Linked DNA regions of Homo sapiens: region 2 is linked to region 1. The links are contacts of gene promoters, found by promoter capture Hi-C in human tissues and cell types (Jung and others, 2019). All regions are on one chromosome and are shown on one strand. Each heading gives the region's core, a stretch centred on a gene start or on the middle of the fragment in contact. The rest is flanking DNA. Distances are from core to core; before and after follow the strand shown.

Evidence for each region. Contacts are between HindIII fragments. The study calls those that stand out against the background at their distance.
Region 2: a contact is called between a fragment that was not itself captured here and the fragment with the promoter of KLHL14 in region 1, in 1 of the 25 tissues and cell types used here (lymphoblastoid cells).

Annotation. Positions count from the first base shown.
Region 1 is chr18:32,771,561-32,774,300 of GRCh38, forward strand. KLHL14 (kelch like family member 14) reads right to left here and starts at 1,463. Exons shown (of 9, transcript NM_020805.3): 1 at 1,107-1,463. It overlaps LOC105372055 (a long non-coding RNA gene), which reads left to right. Exons shown (of 2, transcript XR_935342.4): 1 at 1-727; 2 at 1,755-1,881. The HindIII fragment of the contact is 6,474 bases long and covers 1-2,284 here.
Region 2 is chr18:32,819,266-32,821,965 of GRCh38, forward strand. No RefSeq gene overlaps it. Among named protein-coding and RNA genes, the nearest start is that of KLHL14, 48 kb to the left of the region's middle. The HindIII fragment of the contact is 5,004 bases long and covers 1-2,700 here.

The sequences.
Region 1 (2,740 bases), core at 213-2,712:
CGGAAGTTCAGGCATCAATCTCCCCTTCCAGCGAGGGGCGGCACCGAGGACTCAGGGGGAGGAAGTGGGGCTGCGAGGACGCGTTTGGAGAGGGAGCCGGGAGGCCTGGAGGCCGGGAGGGATTCGTGTGCACGGTTTCCCCTCCCGGGCACCAGGCGCAGTCGCTTTAACTCCAGTAACTATGAGAAGTTCAAGTTAGAAGGCAGGTGTTGGGGGAGGGGTGGGGGCTGTCGAACGAGCGGGGGGGCGGGGGAGCAGTGGGGTGCGGGGTCTCTGCGCCCCACCCAGCATCGTCGCCTGCAGCCGCAGCTCCCTTCTGACCCCCTCGGTAGAGCCCCCAGCGGCCCCCCACTCGGGCACCCCCACTTCCCCGGCCCTGGAACTACTTCTGTAAAAAGTCTGAGCCGCCCGCATCTAGGCAGAGGAGGGCAGGGTGGGGGAGGCGAGGCGAAATCGATACGCCAGGTCCTTAACCTGTAATTGCACCTTCCAGGGCTGAGCAGAAAGGGACCCTCTGCTTGCATCCCGCCCGCGCGCCGGCCCGCCGGCCCGCCGGCCCGCCCGCCCGGGGGAGAGCCGCCGCCGCCGCCCGGCTCGGAGGGATCCCGGCGGACCTGCCCCTTCCACTGCGGCTCACTCTGCCCTGCCTGGCGCCGGTCCTGGATCGCCGGCTTCCTATTTATACCGGACTGGGCTCCTTTCGACTCACTTTACCATCCCGTTCCAGGTGGACCCTACCCTCCCTCGCGCTCCCTCCGCCGGCAGCACCCCCACGCCCGCCCCCAAAGCTCTGGCTTGCCTGAAACATCTTACAGAGTCTCTCTCCCTTTAAGAGGACCCGGTCATACCTCTCTCTAGCTCTCTCCGCTTCGTTGTCTCCCCCCGCCCCATCTTTTCCTATTCCCCTTCCTTCTTGTTCTTCTCCCTTGCCTTTCCTCCTCATCTGCTTATTTCTTGCAATAGGAGTTTTTTCTTTATGAGCGTTTGCCATACAACTACCCCCCCGCCAACCCCTCTGAAAGACTCCCTCCCCGGCCCTTCCCCCTCCAACAATCCAAAAGACAGAACAAAATACACACAAGGCAGACACAAGGCCAGAAACTTACCTGTTCTCAACCAGCTGCAAAGTCAAGGCTCACTTAAGCTCCCCCCAAAAATCAATTGTCCTTCCTTTTTAAAGGTTTGCTGTCTCCTTGGGAGGGGGAAAACACCTTCTGGTTCCCAACTCCAGGCAGTCACTCTTTACAATTTATTTTGTCGTACATCATTTGATCACCATGAATTAGCAACAGCAAGAAAATGTAGGAGAGGGAGAAAAGAGAGAAAGAGAGAGGGAGAGAGAGAGGGAGCAGAGCTTTCTGCAAGAGAAGAAGAAGAAAAAATGTACGTGTGACAAATTATGCTACCAAGAAACAACACATCATTATCCTTGGGCCTGGGGCTCAGTGAGTCGTAACGAGAGTAATAGGAAATCCACGGTTGGGGAGAGAAACGGTCGTGCTTGGCCAGTAGAGAGAGACCATACAGGGGGATGGATGCTGGAGAGACTCGCAAAATTATGGCTCAAGGCTATTGTAAAAATTGTCGAGCGTAAATGACTGCGATTTCAAACATCTTTGGAAGAAAGAAGGGGAAAAAGCGAGCCCCCCCTCCCTCCCTCTCCCTCTCTCTCCCTCTCTCTTCTCTCTCTCTATAAAGAACCGTCAAGTTTTAGTGCGCATTGCTAATTAGTCAATTTCTCTCTGCCTTCACAGGCTGGCGACTTCGCTGCTGAGCTGAAACTGCTAATTTCTGTGACCAGCTTTTTTCTTAGCTGTGATCTGGATGAATGAGTAGCTGTCTCACAGAGATGACAAAAATAAACTCTAATCCCCCCCAAAATTTCCACTACATCTTTCTCATGCATAGATTTATGATCTTCAAGTGCTCTGTGCAATATGCAAACTTTTTTTGTGTCTGTATATATGCTGTTGTTTCCAGATTTCACTACATTGGTATGCTGCTTTTCCCTTCCCCCCACACCTCCCCCCCACCCCCAGCACTGTGAAATGCAGAAACAGTCTGATCTCAAAGTATGCTAAGACACTACTTTATTCTGTTTTGGTATTTGGGGTTTGGGTCTGTCCTGAAAGACACTAGCCCTTGCCTAAAAGGTGAGTGGCTGAGGATACACACCGGGGTGGGGGAGTAGAGCTGGTAGACAGAATAGAGGACAGCCCTTTGCTTTACATTTGCTTCCCACAAGGCACTGTTCAAGGTTTATGATCTTATTTGAAAACATATTTTCTCTATCATTTTGTCTGGTTAAACAACTGCCTCTGAACTTCTCTGTCAGCTCTTCAACAGATAAGGGTGCAGAAGTCACGTTTTTTTTTTTTTTTTTTTTTTACTGAAAGATTATCATATTGTTGGATTTGTATTTCAATTAGGAGTCTTTGATTTGCAGGAGCTAGAATCAAGTGCTAGGAAACCCAGCCGCAATTTCACAAATGTAACCTTTCAACTTTAGAGCTCATCTGATATATAAGGGCAACCACATAGTGCTCACATTTTTGACCCTGCTTAGCATGCAAAAGGAACCCCAGCATGTTTCTGGAATTTTAGCTGTACCAGAGATTCATGTGCATTTTGGTAGAGGACATGTTCTCCAGACTTATCTCATGATGTATTGCACCCTTATGTTTATAGCCCTGCATTTCGGTTGTCAATGGGGGTTGGAGGTGTCCAAGAAAGAAAGAAA
Region 2 (2,700 bases), core at 15-2,514, 48 kb after region 1:
TTCCTATATATTAGAAGGTGTTAAAAAATTTAAAGAAAATTTATTTGTAATAGTATCTACATAGTCAAATACCTTGAAATAAATCTAAGGGAGGATGTGTAGAAAATCTACACCAAAAACCATAAAACACTGTTGAGAGAAATTAAAGAATTAATTAAAGGGGGTGGATATATTATGGTCCAGAATTAGAAGTCTCAATATTTCCAAAATGTCAATTTTACCAAGTTGATTTATAGATTTAATGTAATCCCAGTGAACATTCCAGTAGTTTTTTTTTTTTAATGGAAATTGACAAGCTCATTCTAAGATGAAAAGGCAAAGATGCAGGAATAGTAAAAGAAACTGTGGAGATCAAAATTGGAATATATGTACGGCTAGATATCAAGTCTTGATTACCATAGCTTTATAATAAAACAGTGTCATATTGACATGAGTATTGGTTTTGAAACCGATGGAATAAAGAGTCCAGAAAGAACATTTTAGTCTCTTGAACATATATGGTCTTCTGATTTGTGATACTGGTGACAAGGCAGAGCGTGGAGAATACCATTCTAGTAGTAGTGGCAAGTCAATTGAATATCACCATGGTTCCCACTTAATAGCATAAGTCAGTGGTTCTTAACAGGGACAGTTTTGGCCTTCCTGCTCCCTTGGACATCCAGCAATGACTGGAGACATCACTGATTGTCATGACTTAGGATGGGACATGCTATGGTACTTAGTGGGTACAGGCAAGCGATGCTGCTAAATGTCCTACAAGGCACAGGAGAGTCTCTACACAATGAAGACTTGGCCTGTCCAAAATGTCAATAGTGCTAAGGTTGAGAAACCACGCTGAAAACAAAAGTCAATCTTAGGAGGACTATAGGCTTATATAGGAAGATAGAACATTAAAGCTTATAAGAAAGAATGTATTCATGACCTTGGGTTGTCGAAATTTCTAAAAAGTGACACAAAAGAGCAGTAAGCATAAAGGAAGAGATTGATAAAGAAGAATACAAGTTGTTTATCAAACCACATCCCAAACACAGTAAGATGCTAAGCCATAAGAAAGATATTTGCTATATATATATATATATATATATATATATGTATATATATATGCAACAAAGTGCTTGTATTCAAAAATATATAAACAATGTCTACAAATCAGTAAGAAAAAAGCCAACTCAAATAGAAAAATAGGCAAAATAATCTCTTTTGACAGTAAGTATATGAGAAAGTGCTCAACATCATTAATCACTAAGGAAATAAAAATTTAAAACTGTGAAGTAACATTATACATTCACCAGAAAGATTAAAATGTAAAAGACTGGGAAGCTGTCTTAATCCCAGTGTGGATTAAACTGGGGAGCAACTGGAATTTTCATACACTGCTGACGGGATTGTAAACTGGAACAACTACTTTGGAAAACCATTTGTATCTACTAATACTAAAACTGGACATGTACATATCCCTGTTACTTAGCAATACCAGTCCAACAGAAATGCATACACATGTGTACCAAAAGATATATACATATATGCACCAAAAGATATATATCTTCTATCATGTACATACTTGCAGATTATATACATGATATATCATAAATAGGTACATACTCATATGTATATATACATACACACATATACCTATGTATGTATAAAAGTTTATAGCAGCATTACTCATAATAGTTAAAAACTGGTAACAACCTAGTTGTCTATCAACAGTATGGATAAGGTCTAGTATATTCACACAATGGAATTCCTCACAGCAATGAAAATGAATAAACCATTGTATATACAATAACATGAATAACTCTTACAACGTTGAATGAATGTCAGACACAAAAGGGTACAGGTACATATGATGTCATTCATTATATTAATATGAAAATTGGGTGTTACAAGTCAGGATAGTGTTATCTTTGGAGAGGAAGTTAGGGTTAGGGACTGAGAGAGGGGCAAGGGAGGGCTTCTGTGGTGTTAGTGATATTTTATTCCTTATCTGAACGGTGGTGATACAGGTGTGTTCCTTGTGTAAAAATTCGCTGAGCTTCACACTTATGATTTGTGTACTTTTTCTATCTGTGTATCAATAAAAATATTTATTTGAAAAAATGCATGAGTGGGATGGAGTGAGGAAAAAGTTGGTGCAGAAATAAAATATGCTTTTAGAGTTCAAATATCATATATCCTCACTTATAAGTGGGAGCTAAATCATGTATACATATGGATAGATAGTGTGAAATAATAGACTTCAGAGACTAGAAAAGTGGGAAGATTGGATGGGGTGAGGGATGAAAAATTACTTAATAGGTACAATTATTCAGGTGATGATTACATGGAAAAAACCAGACCTCATCACTGTGCAATATATACATGAAACAAAACTGCACTTGTATCTCTTAAATTTATACAAATTATTGTATAATAATACAAATTATTGTATAATTTGTATAATTATTGTATATATATCATATATATATTTACACACCCTTAAAAAGTATCTGCATTTGAGTTTGCAAGATAAAAATTTCTGACCATGTTTCCTATTCAAAATATTGGAGAATTATAATGCATTTTCTCAATTCCCTTATGATAAATCAAGTTGGCAAAACAATTGGTATTTGTTTCTTACCAAGTTTTCCTAGTTCTTTTTTTTAAAAATATTAGTATGAGCCTGAACTACACAAACTTTCTTTGTTCTTTCCCTTCCTC